Linked DNA regions of Homo sapiens: regions 1, 2, 3, 5, 6 and 7 are each linked to region 4. Evidence: promoter capture Hi-C in 16 types of primary human blood cells and fetal thymus (Javierre and others, 2016). All regions are on one chromosome and are shown on one strand. Each heading gives the region's core, a stretch centred on a gene start or on the middle of the fragment in contact. The rest is flanking DNA. Distances are from core to core; before and after follow the strand shown.

What was found. The method cuts DNA at HindIII sites, captures the fragments that hold promoters and counts their contacts. A CHiCAGO score of 5 or more calls a contact.
Region 1: a fragment that was not itself captured here is called in contact with the fragment with the promoter of KIAA0319 in region 4 in 1 of 17 cell types (neutrophils); the score reaches 9.9 in neutrophils.
Region 2: the fragment with the promoter of MRS2 here is called in contact with the fragment with the promoter of KIAA0319 in region 4 in 7 of 17 cell types (M2 macrophages, M1 macrophages, M0 macrophages and 4 more); the score reaches 9.2 in M2 macrophages.
Region 3: a fragment that was not itself captured here is called in contact with the fragment with the promoter of KIAA0319 in region 4 in 7 of 17 cell types (total B cells, M1 macrophages, M2 macrophages and 4 more); the score reaches 7.4 in total B cells.
Region 5: a fragment that was not itself captured here is called in contact with the fragment with the promoter of KIAA0319 in region 4 in 1 of 17 cell types (neutrophils); the score reaches 5.7 in neutrophils.
Region 6: a contact is called between a fragment that was not itself captured here and the fragment with the promoter of KIAA0319 in region 4, in 1 of 17 cell types (neutrophils). The highest score is 11.1, in neutrophils.
Region 7: a contact is called between a fragment that was not itself captured here and the fragment with the promoter of KIAA0319 in region 4, in 3 of 17 cell types (total B cells, fetal thymus and naive B cells). The highest score is 7.1, in total B cells.

The regions. Positions count from the first base shown.
Region 1 is chr6:24,838,704-24,841,403 of GRCh38, reverse strand. RIPOR2 (RHO family interacting cell polarization regulator 2) reads left to right here. Exons shown (of 22, transcript NM_001286445.3): 14 at 2,132-2,313. Among named protein-coding and RNA genes, the nearest start is that of ARMH2, 41 kb to the right of the region's middle. The HindIII fragment of the contact is 1,603 bases long and covers 599-2,201 here.
Region 2 is chr6:24,401,504-24,404,203 of GRCh38, reverse strand. It overlaps MRS2 (magnesium transporter MRS2), which reads right to left and starts at 1,268. Exons shown (of 11, transcript NM_020662.4): 1 at 968-1,268. The coding sequence starts at 1,157. RefSeq lists an enhancer at 1-631 and a silencer at 2,389-2,683. The HindIII fragment of the contact is 7,340 bases long and covers 1-2,700 here.
Region 3 is chr6:24,427,513-24,430,212 of GRCh38, reverse strand. GPLD1 (glycosylphosphatidylinositol specific phospholipase D1) reads left to right here. Exons shown (of 25, transcript NM_001503.4): 25 at 1,095-2,700. The coding sequence ends at 1,181. Among named protein-coding and RNA genes, the nearest start is that of MRS2, 26 kb to the right of the region's middle. The HindIII fragment of the contact is 4,577 bases long and covers 1-2,700 here.
Region 4 is chr6:24,644,874-24,647,573 of GRCh38, reverse strand. It overlaps KIAA0319, which reads left to right and starts at 1,383. Exons shown (of 21, transcript NM_014809.4): 1 at 1,383-1,838. RefSeq lists a silencer at 1,329-1,538. The HindIII fragment of the contact is 1,579 bases long and covers 608-2,186 here.
Region 5 is chr6:24,809,849-24,812,548 of GRCh38, reverse strand. All of the region lies in intron 20 of RIPOR2 (RHO family interacting cell polarization regulator 2), which reads left to right. Among named protein-coding and RNA genes, the nearest start is that of ARMH2, 12 kb to the right of the region's middle. The HindIII fragment of the contact is 5,753 bases long and covers 1-2,700 here.
Region 6 is chr6:24,858,447-24,861,146 of GRCh38, reverse strand. RIPOR2 (RHO family interacting cell polarization regulator 2) reads left to right here. Exons shown (of 22, transcript NM_001286445.3): 8 at 111-174. Among named protein-coding and RNA genes, the nearest start is that of ARMH2, 61 kb to the right of the region's middle. The HindIII fragment of the contact is 4,946 bases long and covers 1-2,700 here.
Region 7 is chr6:24,490,125-24,492,824 of GRCh38, reverse strand. It overlaps a transcript of GPLD1 not described here. Among named protein-coding and RNA genes, the nearest start is that of GPLD1, 1.9 kb to the right of the region's middle. The HindIII fragment of the contact is 1,357 bases long and covers 641-1,997 here.

The sequences.
Region 1 (2,700 bases), core at 151-2,650, 190 kb before region 4:
GAAGGGCACTCTGAATCTACTTTCTGTAAAATATCAGTTCAAAACCATCAGCTCAGGGCTTGTATATGCAGGCTGCTTGTCTGGTATTCTACTAAACACCTATCTTTTCTGCAAAGTTGACCAGCTTTGCTTTGTGGGCAAAAGGTATTCATTTCAAAGAGCTAAGACACAAATTGATGCCATCTAAAGTGAATTCCTTAGAGAAATCCAGTAGTGATAGCAGCTCCCATTCCAGGCATCTAGGGTGATGGTAAGTAGCTCAATCCACAGGAAACACTAAGCATTATTAAAAACTGGTGATCAGAGACTTCTTTCCAGAGTATTATTTCAGTCTGCTGTTGTTCCAAAATTGTCCTGCTACTAAAATCCTCAACTGCCCCTTTCTTTGTCATGACCAATATTTAAACACATCTGTACTGTACAAGATAAAATTGTGCAGACACCTTGCTTAGGAAAAAAGACCCTAGAAGTAGGTGAAGTCAAGACCGACTCCCTGTCTCCCCCTGAGACTGCTGAAAACATCACTAGTGAGTGTGTTTAGGTCTGGGGCAAATGGCTTTGTATCCAGCCAGAATTAAAGCATCAGCTGGACAAAGCTTTCTCTTTTCTCCCTCCTTCACATTCCTAGGATGCTAAACACCTTGACGATCAGAAACTAAATGGTGCTGCCTCTTGGACGGAGATCACTGAGGGTGAATGAGACAACTGTGATTTAAAAGACCGAAAGACGTTTTCCCATGTGCTTTTGTGCCATCTTGAGTGTCAGAGACAGATCCCTGCAAGGCCCTTCCTACCTTGCGCTAAGAAATCAGCAAGGAGTGTCACCTAACTGGATGGAGGACATTTAGTGCTTCTAACTTGCAGAATTTGTCCCATTCGACCCACCCCAGCATCCTCTTGAATATTTGGAAATACTTCTCTCCAACTCTGTGCCCATAGCAACTGGCATTGTTTTGCTTGTAATGTTTCTGCATGTGGCCAGCATTATAGAATGCTCCAGGCCAGAGAATGGGATTGCTCCCATGATGCCAGGGCCTGGTCAGGGAAGTGGTGGGACTTGTTCCCTTTGAGGCAGAGCTCCAGAGGAAGCAGGGCTGCTTCTTGTCATGCCCAAGGCATTCATTCTTTCCTCAGTCCTCAGAGGAAAAATTATATGCTGTGAGCAGGTGCGGTGGCTCATGCCTGTAATCCCAACACTTTGGGAAGCCCAGGATTGCTGGAGCCCAAGAGTTCAAGACCGGTATGGTCAACATAGGGAGACCCTGTCTCTGCAATAAAAGAAAAAAATTAGCCTGGTGTGGTGGCACATGCCTGTGGTCTCAGCTACCTGGGAGGCTAAGGTGAGAGGATTGCTTAAGCCCGGGAGATTGAGGCTGCAGTGAGCTGTGATCACACCACTGCACTCCAGCCTGAGTGACAGAGCAAGACCTTGTCTCAAAAAAAAAAAAAAAAAAAAAAAAAAAAAAAAGATGCAGGGCTTCTTACCTAGGGAACATGGGCTAGGTGAATTTGAACCACTTCCTGTTTCTGGGATTTGTTTTGTTAGTCCTTTAGAGCAGATGCCTTAGATAGCTAGCGCCTTTTGTAAAACACCGAAGACATTGCCACTTGGAATTAGAGATTGGTCAGTATTCAGCATTGACTCACTGACTTAAAATTTGTCTGCTTGTGGTATTTTATTTTGGGGTGAGCACTAGGCAGAGGGATATAGCAGTTCTGTTTCCCAAGGCTTTGTGGTTGACATGGTTTTGTTTTTTGTTTTTTTTGTTTTTTTTCAACTTTTTGTTATAAAAATTTCAAACAGAAGTAGAGAAGATCCTCTAATGGATCCCAGTGTGCCCATCCCTCAACCTCCTCAGTGATCAACTCATGGCCAATCTTGTTTCCTATTCTTCAACCTGCTGACTTCCCTCTGGATTCTTCTGCAACCAGTCCCAGATATTGTGCCATTTTATCCATGGTTGTACTTCTTTTTTGGATATAAAGATTTTTAAATGCATTTTTTAAATGCTAACAAAAAATAAAAACTTGAAACAAAAAAAAAAGTGTGGCATCTCCAATTGAGCATCGTGTGTCTGGTTTCTCTTTCCGGATATGTTGATGTTCTCCCTGGTGCCTTCTGCCTTTACAGTGCAAGCCAGCAGTAAGCCGCAGCAGGTCTTCCAGTTTAAGTCTCACAGTTGAAAGTGCTTTAGAAAGCTTTGATTTCCTGAACACCTCTGATTTTGACGAGGAGGAGGATGGTGATGAGGTTTGTAATGTTGGCGGAGGTGCTGACTCAGTATTTTCAGACACTGAGACTGAGAAACACAGGTAAGTCTGAAGTTAGTGTCTCCTTATATTTCTCCTGTCACAGCTGATACAGTAGTTCTTTGTTACTGTCAGAGGGGACCTGGTACACATTTCCAGGAAGATAAAACTCTCCACATGAGTGACCAGTTGGCTTACAGTTCCTTTTTATTGTCAAGTGCAATAAAAGGGTCAATATTATTCACCTCTTTTGGGTTGCTTAAGGGAAAATAAATATCTTTATATTTCCTCTTTATAAATAGAGAGGAAAATTTTGTATGAGAGTGTTTTATACAAGTACATGTGTACACATTTTTTTTTAAGACGTAGTCTTGCTCTGTCACCCAGGCTGGAGTGCAGTGGTGCGATCTCAGCTCACCACAACCTCCACCTCCCAGGTTCAAGCGATTC
Region 2 (2,700 bases), core at 19-2,518, 240 kb after region 4:
TTGAGGGTGCAGAGCATGTAACCCAACTTAGCCTCTCCAATAAGTGGAGAATGAGGTGCTGACGAGGAGTTACTTTGGGAGGCTTTTGAGAGCACAATTGAGAAAACATATTTGAGGACACTGCTATGTTCTTAATAAAGTCATTCATTTCAATACCTTTTATTCCTCAAATATTTGCACTCACATTTGTGAAAATCTTAACTTTTCACCATGCTTCAACATTTGGTGAAAAAATAAACAGCAAATAAGATTTTTTTTTCTCAATCCGATCTCCCTGGCTGTTTACTTATAGAGTACTGTAGTTGAAAGTAAGTCGTTCTCAGAAACAACTCAGTCTTTAGCCTCACTTCTAGGTGCGTCCCCAATCTCCGTGCAACTGGACAACTGTATAAATGTGTCCATAACGAAGAAACAGAAAACAGGGAAGTATTAATTTATACTTATGACTTCCGAACAGATGAAATCCTTGTTTAAAAACACCTCTCGGCCAGGTGTGGTGGCTCACGCCTGTAATCCCAGCGCTTTGCGAGGCTAATGCGTTAGGATGGCTCGAGGCAAGGAGTTTGAGTCCAGCCTGGGCAACATAGTAAGACCCTGTCTCAAAAACAACACAGAAAAAACCTCTTACAAGAGCACTTAAGCGGGTGTTAACTAACGTGATCACGGTCTGTAAACGATTCCTAGGTTGTTCCTATGGTTACATAATCTGCAGCAAGGGCGGTGGAGGAGAAGGCAGAGGGTTGGCCGCTGGGACCCCGGCAGGGCACAGCGCACATAGCAAGGTCGCATTCTGAGCGAGTGGGACGCAGCTCGGCCCGCGGGCCTGTGCAAGCTCACAGGACACGCGGGAGGCCGAGGCCTGCGGAGGGCGCGGAGCAACAGGCGCGCCGCGCCGGACGGCTGGGGCAGCAGTCTAAGGTCACTGCAAGACCAGCGTCCCAAGGCTGTTGCCGGGGAAGGGCAGTACCTGCCACGCGGAGCCGGTCGGGCCCGCAAAGCTGCGCCGCTCGGCTCCTTCCAATCAGGTTGGCTCGGCGGCCGCAGGCAGCAACGGGAGGACCCACAGAGGTCACGTCCAAGGCCAGGGCACACAGCGTCCGCCGGGGAAGTCTCATCGCGCGGGGCAGGAGGCAGGGTAAACTGCGCAGGCATTCCATGGTGCTGGAGCAAGAAGCAGGCAGCAGCCAGACCCCAGACCTTCATGCCGGACGCTGGCTGCTCAGGCCGCAGCTCTGACCTGTCGCTACCGCCCGACCTGCAGACTCTGTGCACCAGGCATGCGCGGGGCGTGCCGCGCCTGCGTGCTACTTCCCCACGCATGCTCGGAAGGTACCTGTGGGCGAGCCTGTTAAGTCCACAGCCAATAGACGTTTGCTTGCCTACCTGTACCTGCACCTGTACCTAAGTGAGGGGGCAGGCGGGCTGGGAGATGGGTGGAGCACGTTTACCTGCACTAAGTGAGCTGTCCAACCTAGGTTCTTGGGCGCTTGGAGTGTCATGGTTTTGTAGTTTGTGGAGAATTTTCATACCTATGAAAATTGCAGTTTGGAAATGAGCAGGTTACCCATTCCCACATCATTTAATTTATATTTAAATTTAACGTGGTGTAGGGAGCAAGAGGGAAAGCTCCTACTTTTGCCCTCTGAAAGTTGCTGGAATGAACTAAGTAGACAGATTAGCAGGAGAAAAAGGCATACAAAATTTGCTTAACGTGCATAGGGAAAAATCACAGAAGAGTGATTACTCAATAACTCAATTAAGGTCCAGATGCTTGTATACCCTTCTTTGTTGAGTAGAGGGAGATAGGTATGAATGGGCCCGAAAGCCAGACAGTGGTTTGCAAATGATTCTCCTTGGACATTCAGTGGGACAGAAGTACAAACAATCGCTTGTGGACAAGCTGTGAAACTTCACTCTGAACAAAAATTGTCCTATTATACAGGTAAAGTTTCCCAGGTAATCTCTTGGAGCTACCCTCAGAAGTATCTATGAAAAGTCTCAGTGTGGCTATGACTTTCAGTTTTTGTCTCTTCTCTGGGTGATTAATCTCTTCTGATTATTTAATGCGATTCCTAAGGAACGGGTTTTAAGACAATTGCATTTCTTTGGAAAAGAGTTTTCTCTGTCAGATAAGGAAATTCCTTATCTGGCTGTGCAGGAAAAGAGAGCCCCTTCAGGTGCTTGGAAAAAGTAAGAGTATCAGAGAGACAAAAGGAAGGGGGAAGGTGAGAGAGAGAGGCCTTGATTTTTAGGCTTCTTTCTGAGACCCTTTTAATTTCCTTTAATTCAAAGACTCAACATGCCACCGGGCGTGGTGCCTCATGCCTGTAATCCAGCACTTTGGGAGCCAAGCACTTTGGGAGGCCAATGTTGTGGACCACTTGAGGTTAGGAGTTCAGGACCAGCCTGGCCAACATGGCAAAACCCGTCTCTACTAAAAATACAAAAATTAGCCGGGTGTGGTTGCAGGTGCCTGTAATCCCAGCTACTTGTAAGGCTGAGGCATAAGAATTGCTGGAATCCAGGAGGTGGAGGTTGCAGCGAGCCCAGATCATGCCATTGCATTCCAGCCTGTACTGCATTCCAGCCTGTACGACAGAGTGAGACTCCCATCTCAAAACAAACAAACCCCAAAGACTCAGCATGCCAAAACATCATATTTTGGGGTATTATGGTTTGAGCCCCAGTAGTGGCAAAAAT
Region 3 (2,700 bases), core at 196-2,695, 220 kb after region 4:
ATTCCATAAATTGGGAAAGAGAGGGAGAATAAAGTACCATTTGATGCTGTTTTCTTAAGTGTAGATTTTCCCTATTAATTGACACTGGGTATTAAGGGATAAGATAAGCACAGGGCTAAGCATAGTGTCTGACCCATGATACAACCTCCACAAATTTTAGCTATTATTATTATTTCTAGATTTCATCAGTAGTTTTCAAAATTAAATAAGAAACTGTCATATCCTGCTCTGACCAAAATACTGTCAGCCAGTTTGATCACCCGTACCTCATGTGCCAGCTTTGGTTCAGAATAACTTTTGTCAGTTTCCACAAATCAAATCCGACCTCGGAGTATGAAGATTTGCCACCACTGAAAATATTTAAAGACCAGGCATGGTGGCTCACATCTGTAATTTCAGCACTTTGGGAAGCCGAGGCGGGTGGATCACTTGAGGTCGGGAGTTCGAGACCAGCCTGGCCAACATGGTGAGAGCTCGTCTCTACTAAAAATACAAAAATTAGCCAGATGTGGTGGCACATGCCTGTAATCTCCGCTACTCGGGAGGCTGAGACATGAGAATCACTTGAAACTAGGAAGCAGAAGTTGCAGTGAGCTGAGATCACATCACTGCACTCCAGCCTGGGTGACAGGGCAAGACTCTGTTTCAAAAAAGAAGAAAATGTTTTAAAAACTTGCAGCAGGTTTTGAAGGCAATTCTGAAAGATGGGTCCTAAAATGTTTTAAGCAGCAGGGTAGGTGGGAGGTACGCTAAACACATTGACAAAGCCAGCTTCTAGGGGAAGTCCTTACTATTCAAGATATGTTTTCCACATTGTACCAGAACTAAGCATGCACTGCCCTACTTCTCCTTTATGATTTATGTGCCAGAATAGGGATTGGGGTGAGCATCCTTAGCTGCGGTTTTCAGAACTTATAGATGTGAGAAAGCGGTCTGTAAACAAAGGGAAAGTGGCATTTGAGTTCAAGCCAGGGGATCTGGCCAGTGTCTTATTCATCTTTATATTTCTAGAGCATAGCATGATGCCTGGACTACCATAGGAACTCAATAGATGTTATGAATGAGCCATGAATTCTGTCTTGTGTCCCTTACAGAACCAAGTCGTCATTGCTGCTGGAAGGAGTTCTTTGGGAGCCCGACTCTCCGGGGCACTTCACGTCTATAGCCTTGGCTCAGATTGAAGATTTCACTGCATTTCCCCACTCTGCCCACCTCTCTCATGCTGAATCACATCCATGGTGAGCATTTTGATGGACAAAGTGGCACATCCAGTGGAGCGGTGGTAGATCCTGATAGACATGGGGCTCCTGGGAGTAGAGAGACACACTAACAGCCACACCCTCTGGAAATCTGATACAGTAAATATATGACTGCACCAGAAATATGTGAAATAGCAGACATTCTGCTTACTCATGTCTCCTTCCACAGTTTACTTCCTCGCTCCCTTTGCATCTAAACCTTTCTTCTTTCCCAACTTATTGCCTGTAGTCAGACCTGCTGTACAACCTATTTCCTCTTCCTCTTGAATGTCTTTCCAATGGCTGGAAAGGTCCCTCTGTGGTTATCTGTTAGAACAGTCTCTGTACACAATTCCTCCTAAAAACATCCTTTTTTAAAAAAAGAATTGTTCAGCCATAAAGAAAGAACAAGATCATGCCCTTTGCAGGGACATGGATGGAGCTGGAGGCCATTATCCTTCATAAACTATTGCAGGAACAGAAAACCAAACACTCCATATTCTCACTTGTAAGTGGGAGCTAAATGAGAACACGTGGACACATAGAGGGAAACAACACACACTGGGGCCTATGAGAGGGCGGAAGGTGGGAGGAGGGAGAGATCAGGAAAAATAACTAATGGATACTTAGGGTGATGAAATAATCTGTGTAACAAACCCCCATGACACACCTTTATGTATGTAACAAACCAGCACTTCCTGCGCATGTACCCCTGAACTTAAAAGTTAAAAAAAAGTTGAACTTAAAAATAACAGATTGGCCCATGCCAATCAAAGTATAATAGAAAGCATAGTATACAGAAAAAAAAAAAAAAAAGAAACTGAGGGAGGAAAAATAGTACAGAGTAAAGCATGGGGGTGAGGGATAACCTCACATTCCAAATCACTTGTGACTTAGTCCTTTTTAACTTTTATTTTAGGTTCAGTGGTACATGTGAAGGTTTTATCTTTTCTGTTCCTCCCACCTTCCCCACTCAAGTAGACCCCAGTGTGTGTTGTTTTGTGTTCATAAGTTCTTTTAACTTAGCACCCACTTGTGAGAACATGCTATACTTGGTATTTGGTTTTCTGTTCCTGGTCGTGTGTTAGTTTGCTAAGGATGATAGTCCTTTTTTTTTTTTTTTTTTTTTGAGACGGAGTCTTGCTCTGTTGCCCAGGCTGGAGTGCAGTGATGTGATCTCAGCTCACTGCAACCTCCGCCTCCCAGGTTCAAGTGATTCTCCTGTCTCAGCCTCCCAGGCAGCTGGGACTACAGGTGCACAATACTACGCCCGGCTAATTTTTGTATTTTTAGTAGAGACAGGGTTTCACCATGTTGGCCAGGCTGGTCTCGAACTCCTGATCTCAGGTGATCCACCCACCTTGACCTCCCAAAGTGCTGGGATTACATGTGTGAGCCACAGGACCTGGCCGATAATCCTTTCTTAATGAGGATTAATACCTTTTCAATGTTTATATAGTGA
Region 4 (2,700 bases), core at 134-2,633:
TTTGCTTCTGACTTTGTCCTCTCAGCCTGATCATTGATCATTGGCAGTACTAACTTTTCCAAGTCCAAGCTGATTTTCACTCTTTGAGTCCTGGACAGGTTTTTACTCTTTAGTTTTTATTTATTTATTTATTTATTTATTTATTTATTTATTTATTTATTTATTTATTTTGAGACGGAGTCTTGCTCTGTCGCCCAGGCTGGAGTGCAGTGGCACGATCTCGGCTCACTGCAACCTCCGCCTCCTGGATTCAAGCGATTCTCCTGCCTCAGCCTCTCAAGTAGCTGGAACTACAGGCGCGGGCCACCACTCCCGGTTAATTTTTTGTATTTTTAGTAGAGACGGGGGTTTCACCGTGTTAGCCAGAATGGTCTCGATCTCCTGACCTCGTGATCCGCCCGCCTCGGCCTGCCAAAGTGCTAGGATTACAGGCGTGAGCCACCGCACCCAGCTGGTTTTTACTCTTTAAATGTGCATTATCTTATTTGATTCCCAGAATCATCCTATATGAATGCTATTATCTTCATTTTATAATTGAGGAAACAGGTTTATCTAGATTAGGTAACTTGTCTGAGGCTCTTCGGTAAATACGAGTAGCCAAGAAGCTTATTCATCAACAGTGTGTGACTCAGCCCTAAGCACTGCACTTATACCTCCTAGTAATGAGATGTGCGAGGAATGCCCTGGCTACCTTTTCTGCTCATGATATTATCCCTAGATGCTTTCGCATCTTTATTAAAACAGTAAAAATGCAAGAGTCTTCCACCCAAGTTTTCTGTGGTTTAGATTATCACGTTCCTCAAGATGCAAATGTCAAACTATACTGGGCATCCAGTTAACCTGCAAGGCCTGGAGGTGATGGGAGCCCCTCCTAGCACAGGTTCCCAGTCTCAGTCAGAAAGCACCTGCTCAAAATAGAAAGATAATTACAGAGTAGGGGCCAAAGAGACTCCCACTGGAAGAATGGAACTTGTGTAGCTGGGGTGACACAAGCTGGGGACAAGCTGGGGGACACATTCGCGAAGGGTGTTTGACCCAGGCAGTGCACCCACGGCTCCCTTGAGCCACCCTGGCCCGGGTGTTTATTTGGAAGGAGTGTTCATCCCCCAGACTGTTTAGGGCCACGGTGACAGGGAAGGGCTTGGTGAAGGAAAGCAGGTAGGGTATGAAGGCCGCTCAGGTTCACGAAAGACTTTTGCTTGGTCCCCTGCGGGGTGGGAGTGTGTCGCCCCGGTGCGGGTACTTAGAGCGCAACCGGGGAGCTGAGCAGGGGAGCTGAGCAGGGGAGCTGGGCAGGGGCGGCTGCCGCGCCCCACATCCCTGAGGGCGTGTGTGCGCGTGCGCGCGCGTCGCCGTGGTAACCGCGGCGGCGGAAAGGCGCTGAATCACTGGCGCGCGCTTTCCCCGAGCCTGCAGAAGCTGCCGCGGGCGGTGGGCGGGGATCCCCCGGGGGTGCAACCTTGCTCCACCTGTGCTGCCCTCGGCGGGCCTGGCTGGCCCCGCGCAGAGCGGCGGCGGCGCTCGCTGTCACTGCCGGAGGTGAGAGCGCAGCAGTAGCTTCAGCCTGTCTTGGGCTTGGTCCAGATTCGCTCCTCTGGGGCTACGTCCCGGGGAAGAGGAAGCGAGGATTTTGCTGGGGTGGGGCTGTACCTCTTAACAGCAGGTGCGCGCGCGAGGGTGTGAACGTGTGTGTGTGTGTGTGTGTGTGTGTGTGTGTGTGTGTGTGTGTGTGTAAGACCTGCGATGACGACGAGGAGGAACAAGTGGGACGGCGAGTGATGCTCAGGGCCAGCAGCAACGCATGGGGCGAGCTTCAGTGTCGCCAGCAGTGACCACAGGTACGGTATCTACTTCCCAGAGCGCCTGGCCGAGAAATAGGAAAGAGGGCAGCCAGTAGGCAGGCCAATACCCAACAAAAGTAGAATCGAGACGCCCTGAGTTCAGAAGGTGAGTTTCTTAAGATTCTTCTGGGCATTCAGGAAAGGGCATTTTTTGATTGCTGCACTGATTGTTGACTAGTAGGGTGGAGTCGGGGAAATTTGAGTGTCTTTTCCCAACCTCACGAATTGCATTTTTTTAGAAGTAAGGAATCGTTTTCTTTAAACTTCATTCAGAACTATTTATGTGATCTTTCCTATTATTTGCTAAATGCATTTTGTCTCTGTTCCTTACCATAACCTGAAGCTTAAAATCTTTCTCTTCTTCCCTTTGAATTCCCTCCAAGGAATGTCACAAATTAATCGGGAGGATAAACCTGAAATTTTGAGAGTTATCATCTTAAGGTCATTTGTTAATTAAATACAAGGAGGAAAAATATGATATACATACTCATGTGCACTTTTATTGCTGGTTTGTTCATCAAAACATTTTTGTTTGTCGGTGAAATGTTAGTATTTTTTCCACTGCTTGAATTGAAAAGTTGAATGATGTTTTTGATAGTAACAGAAAAAATAAATTGTAGACAATGTTCCCCCCCACACACAAGAATTTTGGAAGTAAATGTTGGTATTTATTTCTTTATTCCTGAAATACATGCTCACTTTCCAAATGCTTCAATTTATTATAAGAAGACCACAATTGTAGAGACTACTAAAGTTATGCCAAATCTAAACTTTTATTTTGTGCTTTTTTTAGTATTATTTTTAATTCAGATGAGGAAAACTGGAGGTGTCAGTTCAGTTATAGACGTAGGAGTCACAG
Region 5 (2,700 bases), core at 128-2,627, 160 kb before region 4:
ACAAATTTACAAGAAAAAAACAAACAACCCCATCAAAAAGTGGGCGAAGGACATGAACAGACACTTCTCAAAAGAAGACATTTATGCAGCCAAAAAACACATGAAGAAATGCTCATCATCACTGGCCATCAGAGAAATGCAAATCAAAACCACTATGAGATATCATCTCACACCAGTTAGAATGGCAATCATTAAAAAGTCAGGAAACAGGTGCTGGAGAGGATGCGGAGAAATAGGAACACTTTTACACTGTTGGTGGGACTGTAAACTAGTTCATCCATTGTGGAAGTCAGTGTGGCGATTCCTCAGGGATCTAGAACTAGAAATACCATTTGACCCAGCCATCCCATTACTGGGTATATACCCAAATGAGTATAAATCATGCTGCTATAAAGACACATGCACACGTATGTTTATTGCGGCACTATTCACAATAGCAAAGACTTGGAACCAACCCAAATGTCCAACAATGATAGACTGGATTAAGAAAATGTGGCACATATACACCATGGAATACTATGCAGCCATAAAAAATGATGAGTTCATATCCTTTGTAGGGACATGGATGAAAATGGAAACCATCATTCTCAGTAAACTATCGCAAGAACAAAAAACCAAACACCGCATATTCTCACTCATAGGTGGGAATTGAACAATGAGATCACATGGACACAGGAAGGGGAATATCACACTCTGGGGACTGTGGTGGGGTCGGGGGAGGGGGGAGGGATAGCATTGGGAGATATACCTAATGCTAGATGACACATTAGTGGATGCAGCGCACCAGCATGGCACATGTATACATATGTAACTAACCTGCACAATGTGCACATGTACCCTAAAACTTAGAGTATAATTAAAAAAAAAAAAAAGAAAAAAAAAAAAAAAAAAGTACTAAACGAATGGGAACTCCTGACATGGATGTTTCCCTTTCAATGGCAAGATGTAATGTTTGACCTACTTTCATCACAAAAAAATAAGACAAATCAGTCTTGAGAAAAGAATGAGAGAAGGCCAGGTGCAGTGGCTCATGCCTGTAATCCCAGCACTTTGGAAGGCTGAGGCAGGCGTATCACTTGAGGTCAGGAGATCGAGACCAGCCTGGTCAACATGATGAAACCCCGTCTCTACTAAAAATACAAAAAAAATTAGCCAGGCATGGTGGCACACACCTGTAATCCCAGCTACTGGGGAGGCTGAGGCAGGAGAATCGCTTGAATCCAGGAGACAGAGGTTTCAGTGAGCCAAGATTGCACCACTGCACTCCAACCTGGGCGACAGAGACTCCATCTCAAAAAAAAAAAAAAAAAAAAAAAAAAAGAATGAGAGAAGGCCACACCTTAGAACTTGCCAAAATCTTGGAAAAGAGCTGCAGGCCTGATAAAGAAAGGAATTAATACCTCAAAAGAAAAAGTTAATGGCCTGTGATCAAAAACAGCTCTAGGGCCAGGCATGGTGGCTCATGCCTGTAATCCCAGCACTTTGGGAGGCTGAGGCCGGTGGATCACCTGAGGTCAGGAGTTTGAGACCAGCCTGGCCAACATGGTGAAACCTCATCCTTACTGAAAACACAAAAATTAGCCAGGCGTGGTGGCGCACACCTGTAATCCCAGCTACTCAGGAGGCTGAGGCAGGAGAATCGCTTGAACCCAGGAGACAGAAGTTGCAGTGAGCCAAGATCACGCCACTGTACTCCAGTCTGGGTGACTGAATGAGACTCTGTCTCAAAGAAAAAAAAAGAAACAGCTGTAGGAAATTTTGCCTTGTTACTTGGTTAAAAAAAAAATTACCTTCAGGTGCCCAAATAGAAAGCCCACAGTGATTGCTATTTGGGTGCTTTCCTGATATCCAGTGATATATCAGTGACAGATGTCTGTGATACAGACAAAGTAAATAAAGACATAAGGATACAGTGATCTGCATGGGTTTTCATACTCTGAATCCACTAGACTGTAAATTCTTGAGGACCAGAACCATGTCTGGTTTACTGTGGAATCTCTCATGCCTTATGAATAGTCTGGTTCATGGAGTGCTCAATAAATATTTGTGGAACAAACAAATAGAAGAATTGTCATTAATGGCCTTTACCTCCTCCTCTATTTTAGCATATAAACTAAATAGTAAGAATTTTTTAATTAGAGCCATTTTGGAATCAGTGAGATTCAGTGGAAAGAACCAGGGAAAATGGATTCTACTCTGGAAAAGCAAGCTCGTCACTTCACTCCTCTAGACCAGGAGTGTGCTGTGGAATGAGGAATTTAGCTGATCATCAGAATTCCTGAAAGTAAGAACTCTGGGCCCCATCCCAGGAAATTCTGATATAGTGCATCCGGAGTGGCACCCAGGAATATTGGGTTTCAGACACTCAGCTAGGTTTGACCCCATAGGTAAAGTGGTTTTTAGCATTCCTACCAGCTGGCCGGGCACAGTGGCTTACACCTGTAATCCCACCACATTAGGAGGCCAAGGCAGAAGAATTCGACTAGCCTGGGCAACATAGTGAGACCTCATCTGTACCAAAGGTTAAAAATTAAAAATCAGTCCTGGCTACTCAGGAGGCTGAGGCAGGAGAATTGCTTGAGCCCAGGAGGTCAAGGCTGCAGTGAGCTATGATTGCTCCATTGCACTCCAGCCTGGGCAACAAAGTGAGGCTAAAGTTCCCACCAGTTGTGAAATGCCAAGTCTCGTGGTACTCTAGAC
Region 6 (2,700 bases), core at 96-2,595, 210 kb before region 4:
AAATGCTTCTCGTTGTTCACGCAGTGGTTGTGCTGCTGTTCGAACGTCGTGTGCTTTGAGCTGTTGGGTGAAAGGCTAGCTCTCATGATCGTCTCCTGTCCTCTTTGCAGAATATGTGCACCATTGAAGTGGAGCTAGAGAATCTGCTGGGAGAATTCTCCATCAAGATGAAAGGTATTATTTTCCTTGTTTAGAGAGAATAAGGAGCCATCTCTGCAGAGTGCAGAGCTCCTTGAAGTTTGAGAGCCCATGCTATTTTTATTTTCCTTGCAAAGACGCAGCGCCACCCACTCTCAACCCACCCCACTTTTGATAGTTTACTGATGCTTCTCATCCTGAGGCTTACCTACACACACAAAAATATTATGACAGAATCTCAAACATACACAGAAGTGGAGAGAACATTATAATGAGCCCCCATAAACCCATCACCTAGATGTAATAATTAGCAAGATTTTGCCACATTTGCTCCATCTCTTTGCTTTTGTTTTTCCTTTGATAAAAGAGAAGTCCTTTGATGAAATAAAACCCAGATATGTCAGTCTGCTGCTATACACTTCAGTATGCATCTCTTAAAGCATGGGGCTGTCATCTTACATAACCACGATGCCAAGTACTGTCACGTTTTCACAGCTAACAAAAATAATAAACCCTGGTTATTAACCCATTCCATTATCAGATTTCCCCCGTTGTCTCAAAAATGCCTTGTACATTTGATTAGTTCAAATTAGGATCCCAACAAGGTCCATGCATTACAATTGGTTGTTAGGTATATCTTTTAGATTTCCTTTAATCTAAAACAAACCTCTCCCTACCTTTTTTTCTACCCTTGACTTGCTGTAGAAACCATTGTACAGAATGTCCCACATTCTAGCTTGTCTGTTGGCTTCTTTGGGGTGATCTTTAAATTCTTCCTTTAGCTCCTCATGTTTCTAGCAAACTAACTATGAAATTTTGTAAATCTTGGTGTTAAACCCACAGAGAATTTTTCCCCTCCCAGTGCCTTTCTGGTATTTATTCCAGAAAGTTCCAAACTAGACACATTATTGAGTTAAACCACAGCATCTTCAGAACAAAAACGAAGTCTGGTTTTAGAAAATAGAGCATTGCTCAGGTGTTGTCAGATTTACGGCTCAGTGGCCAGGCATGGCTGTCAAATGAGCGGCCATCACAGCAAGTCAATTTCTCTTCCAAGTTTTGGCCCATCTGACTGCAGTGAAGAGGGCTGGTGCTTATGCAATTCTGAGGTTTCTTAGCAGCTTGATCCCTGGGTTGCTAATGGGGATTTAATCACCTTCTTTCTACTTTCTGCAATTAAGGGAGTAAAGAAAGGAGACTTTTTTTTGAAAGGGCTCGACAGGAGGGCTTCATTTTCCAATGAATCATCTAACTCAGGAGGGAAATTATTCTGTCAAGCACTAGGCACTGACATGTAAGAGCCTGTCTGAGAATACCTGGAATATAAATGACCTTGACCCTCAGCTTCCCAAATGGCTGCATGCTTCTCTTCCGGCAGATCCGGTAGGGAATCAGTTTAGTATTCAGTGTTAAGTTTCAACACTTGCTTTGCTACTGAGTCTGGCATCTGTGCTTTTTTCCATTTTTTAGGTCCATTCTCTACATTTTTGGGTCCTCACTTGAGTCAGTGGTTCCAAAATCACGCAGGTCCATAGTCCCACGTGGGCCCTGGAATTTTTATTTTAACTTTGAGGATGATTCTATCAGCAGCCTGATCAATTCTGGAAAATAACTGCCCTGAATCAGTGTTTAGCAGAAAACCTTCCCTCTACTTCCCCCAACTCTCAGACGCCACCCACACAGACTAGCACAGTCGCAGAGTCTCGCAGCCTAACAGTAATTCAAATCATGCACATCACCTATCACTGCTAATATAAAAAAGTACTATATTTCTCCTATTTCTGATGCTCAGTATTATCAAGTGCATCTATTTTTGGTGGGATGGTAATTTCCTGATTTTACAGATGGGAAATAGGGGCCTAGAGAGGCTAAATGACTTGTCCCAGGAGTCACACTTAAATTGGAGTCAGACAAGAAACTGAATTCCAGGGTTCTTTGTTCCTAATGCATTCCCACCTCTAACTCCATGTTATGAGGGAAGTTCAGAGCTGAGCAGACAATATAAACCATTGCTCAAAGAATGGTCTCCCTCACGGGCAGATCCTCTCCAACCTAGCACAGAGACACCCTAGGAGTGGGATGGGGAGGAAAGGGACCACCCTCGGACCAGATCTGGAGCTTCAGGCTTGGTGTTCAGGGAGGAGATGATGCTGGAGTCCCTGCCACCTACTGGGGGACCTGGCCACCCCGCTACATCGCAGCCCTGATGGACTGATGAACTTGCTGTTGCTCCTGCTCCTCCATCTCCTCCTCTCTCTGTTGTTCTTGCTCTCCTGCCTGATGTTCCTGAGAGTCCACCTGAACGCTTGGTTTCTTCCATGGGGTTTCTCAGGCCTGAGACTAAATCTCCTTCCTCATTGATAGACTCCTGTCTCCTCCACTTTCCTCATCTAACAGGCAAACTCAGAAACTACATCTGTGAAGGCTTTCAATGGTAAACACCCCCATGGAAATCTTTCTCTTCCTCCATAAAGAGAAAGGGAAACCTCATGCTGCCAAGAAATCCTATTGTCTTTGCAATTAGCTGCTTTCTCATCTGTTACTCATTCTGGTAAAAACTAC
Region 7 (2,700 bases), core at 70-2,569, 150 kb after region 4:
AAAGTTCACAATGTGGCCCTCCCCTTTTCCCTCAGTTTTGTGCCCCTCTTCAAGCCCCCATTCAGAGTGTAAACAATTTCCTCCTGGCTCCTGTCTTACTTCCAGCCTGTCCTGATGCCCCCTAGCGCCTGGCTGGGTGTCTGTCCTTACCAGGGCCTACAAGGACAAGACCATCAGGTGAGAGGGACCTCTTCCCTCCTTTCTCCTTTGGCTGCCCTTGTCCTGGGAACCTCCACTCCCCAGTTCCCACCCTTATTCATCCTCTCCCCCATTTTCTTTTTCTTTTTTTTCTTTCACTTTTTTTTTTTTTTTTTTTTTTGAGTCAGGGTCTTACTCTGTCGCCCAGGCTGGAGTGCAATGGCACGATCTCAGCTCATTGCAACGTCTGCCTCCTGGGTTCAAGTGATTCTCCTGCCTCAGCCTCCAGAGTAGCTGGGAGTACAGGTGCGCGCCACCATGCCTGGCTAATTTTTGTATTGTTTAGTAGAGATGGGGTTTCACCATGTTGGCCAGGCTGGTCTTGAACTCCTGACCTCAGGTGATCTGCCCACCTCGGCCTCCCAAAGTGCTGGGATTACAGGCATGAGACACTGTGCCCAGCCTCTTCTCCCCCATTTTCTAGACTGGCCCACATAAAGCTTGAGACCCTCTGGCTTTCAAACCTGTATTCTCCCTACTCACTCCTTAATGTAACTGTATGTTTACTTTTCACCTTGGGTCTCTATTTCCAGAAGAGTTCTAAATGGTAGAATCATGCTGTCTTGTTTATAACAAAGCCACCTATATTAGGAAAGGGGGGTGTGGGGCAGAAAGAAAAATATTTCCATATGCTTATTATTTGTCAGATAGTAATATTGTGAGCTACGTTTTAACTTTCTTTAAAGTCATATCTTTGATGTTTTTATTGTTACCAAAGTAATACAAACTTCATAAAACTGCAAGCAATATTGTCATATAAAGACCATATTCATAACTATCACACTAAGCAAATAATTTCCTCTTATTTTATTACATTTATACGTTTATGTCATTCTGAATCTCAAATACAAAAAAATGCATAATGAGAAATTGAGACATTTGGGATTAGTATTGTTTGGTAACTGAACCCATTCCTTTTTTTTTTTTGAGGTGGGGTCTTGCCCAGGCTGGAGTGCAGTGGTGTGATCTCAGCTCACTGCAACCTTCACTTCCCAGGTACAGGCGATGTTCCCGCCTCAGCCTCCTGAGTAGCTTGGACCATAAGTGCATGCCACCATGCCCGGCTAATTTTTGTTTTTGTTTTTTTCTTGGTAGAGACGGGATTTTGCCATGTTGCACAGGCTGGTTTTGAACTCCTGGCCTCAAGCCATCTGCCCGCCTTGGCCTCCTAAAGTGCTGGGATTATAGGCGTGAGCCACCACACCTGTTCTGAACCCATTTCTTTGGTGCTTTTTGGATGGGTTTGTTGTATTATATATGGTTAGATATCTTTTCTAGCAGTATTTTTTTCCCCTGTAACCATTGATTGACTGCTCTTGGATGTTCTGAGAGACAATATCCAAAGTCCCAATTAATAATTGTGACTCCCTCACGCACAGTCTGTAGAAGGCCCAGAGTGACAGGGAGGCAAACTCAAAGGCCTCTGGTGGCCAGAAGGGGTGTGGAAACCTGCACACATTGCATGGATGGTGGGGACTGGAGGAGCAGGACATGCTCTATCAGGGGGCAGCTGGCTCTTTGGCTGCAGCTGGTTGTCGTGTCACATGGGAGCGTCAGTTCATGATGCCAGTTCTTTTGTTTTTAAGAGAGCCAGAAATCTAGATTTCTACGTGAATTTTCTCATTTAGAAAAAGTTCATAAACTTGATTTAAGTTTATAAAACATCCTGTTAGCCAAACAAAACACGTAGGCATATGGCCTCTGGACTAATCAGGAGTAGCTGGGCCTACTGCCCCTCAGGTCTGGGGGTAGCTGCGGGATTTCTTTCCTTGGGGCTGTGCACATGGCTGTGTTAAGCTTACAGGGGAAACTGTTGGGGCGACAACTGTTGTCAAATCATTCCACTTTCTTTTTTTCTTTTCTTTTTTTTTTTTTGAGACAGGGTCTTGCTCTGTCACCCAGGCTAGAGTGCAGTGGTGCAATCTCGGCTCACCGCAATCTCCACCTCCTGGGTTCAAGAGATCCTCCCACCTCAGCCTCCCCAGTAGCTGGGACTACAGTCACGTGCCACCACACCTGGCTAATTTTTGTATTTTTAGTAGAGACGGGGTCTTCACTATGTTGATCACGCTGGTCTCAAACTCCTGACCTCAGGTGATCCACCAGCCTCAGCCTCCCAGAGTGCTGGGATTACAGGTGTGGGCCGCCACGCCCAGCCAAATCATCCCACTTTCTATTCATCCTTTCATTTGGCAAACCTGAAGTGAATACTATTTCCTCCCACTCTTTTAGGAGCCCATCTCTTGCTTTTAATGTAAAATATGCATAATTTGTGTTTTAAGATTACCATCAGTTTCATGAAGAGCTTAATTTTTCCCATGGATGAAGTGTAAGTGGGTACCTGATAATATATCGTGAGCTTAACATTTTCCAAACCCTGTTTCTTGGCCCTAAATCTGCCCCCTTCCTTCCACCTCCCAAGTGGAATTGACATCTTTGCTTCAGCTGCAGGAATCTGACCTTGCAACAGGCTCTGGATAAGCCCTATTAGAACAGCCAGAG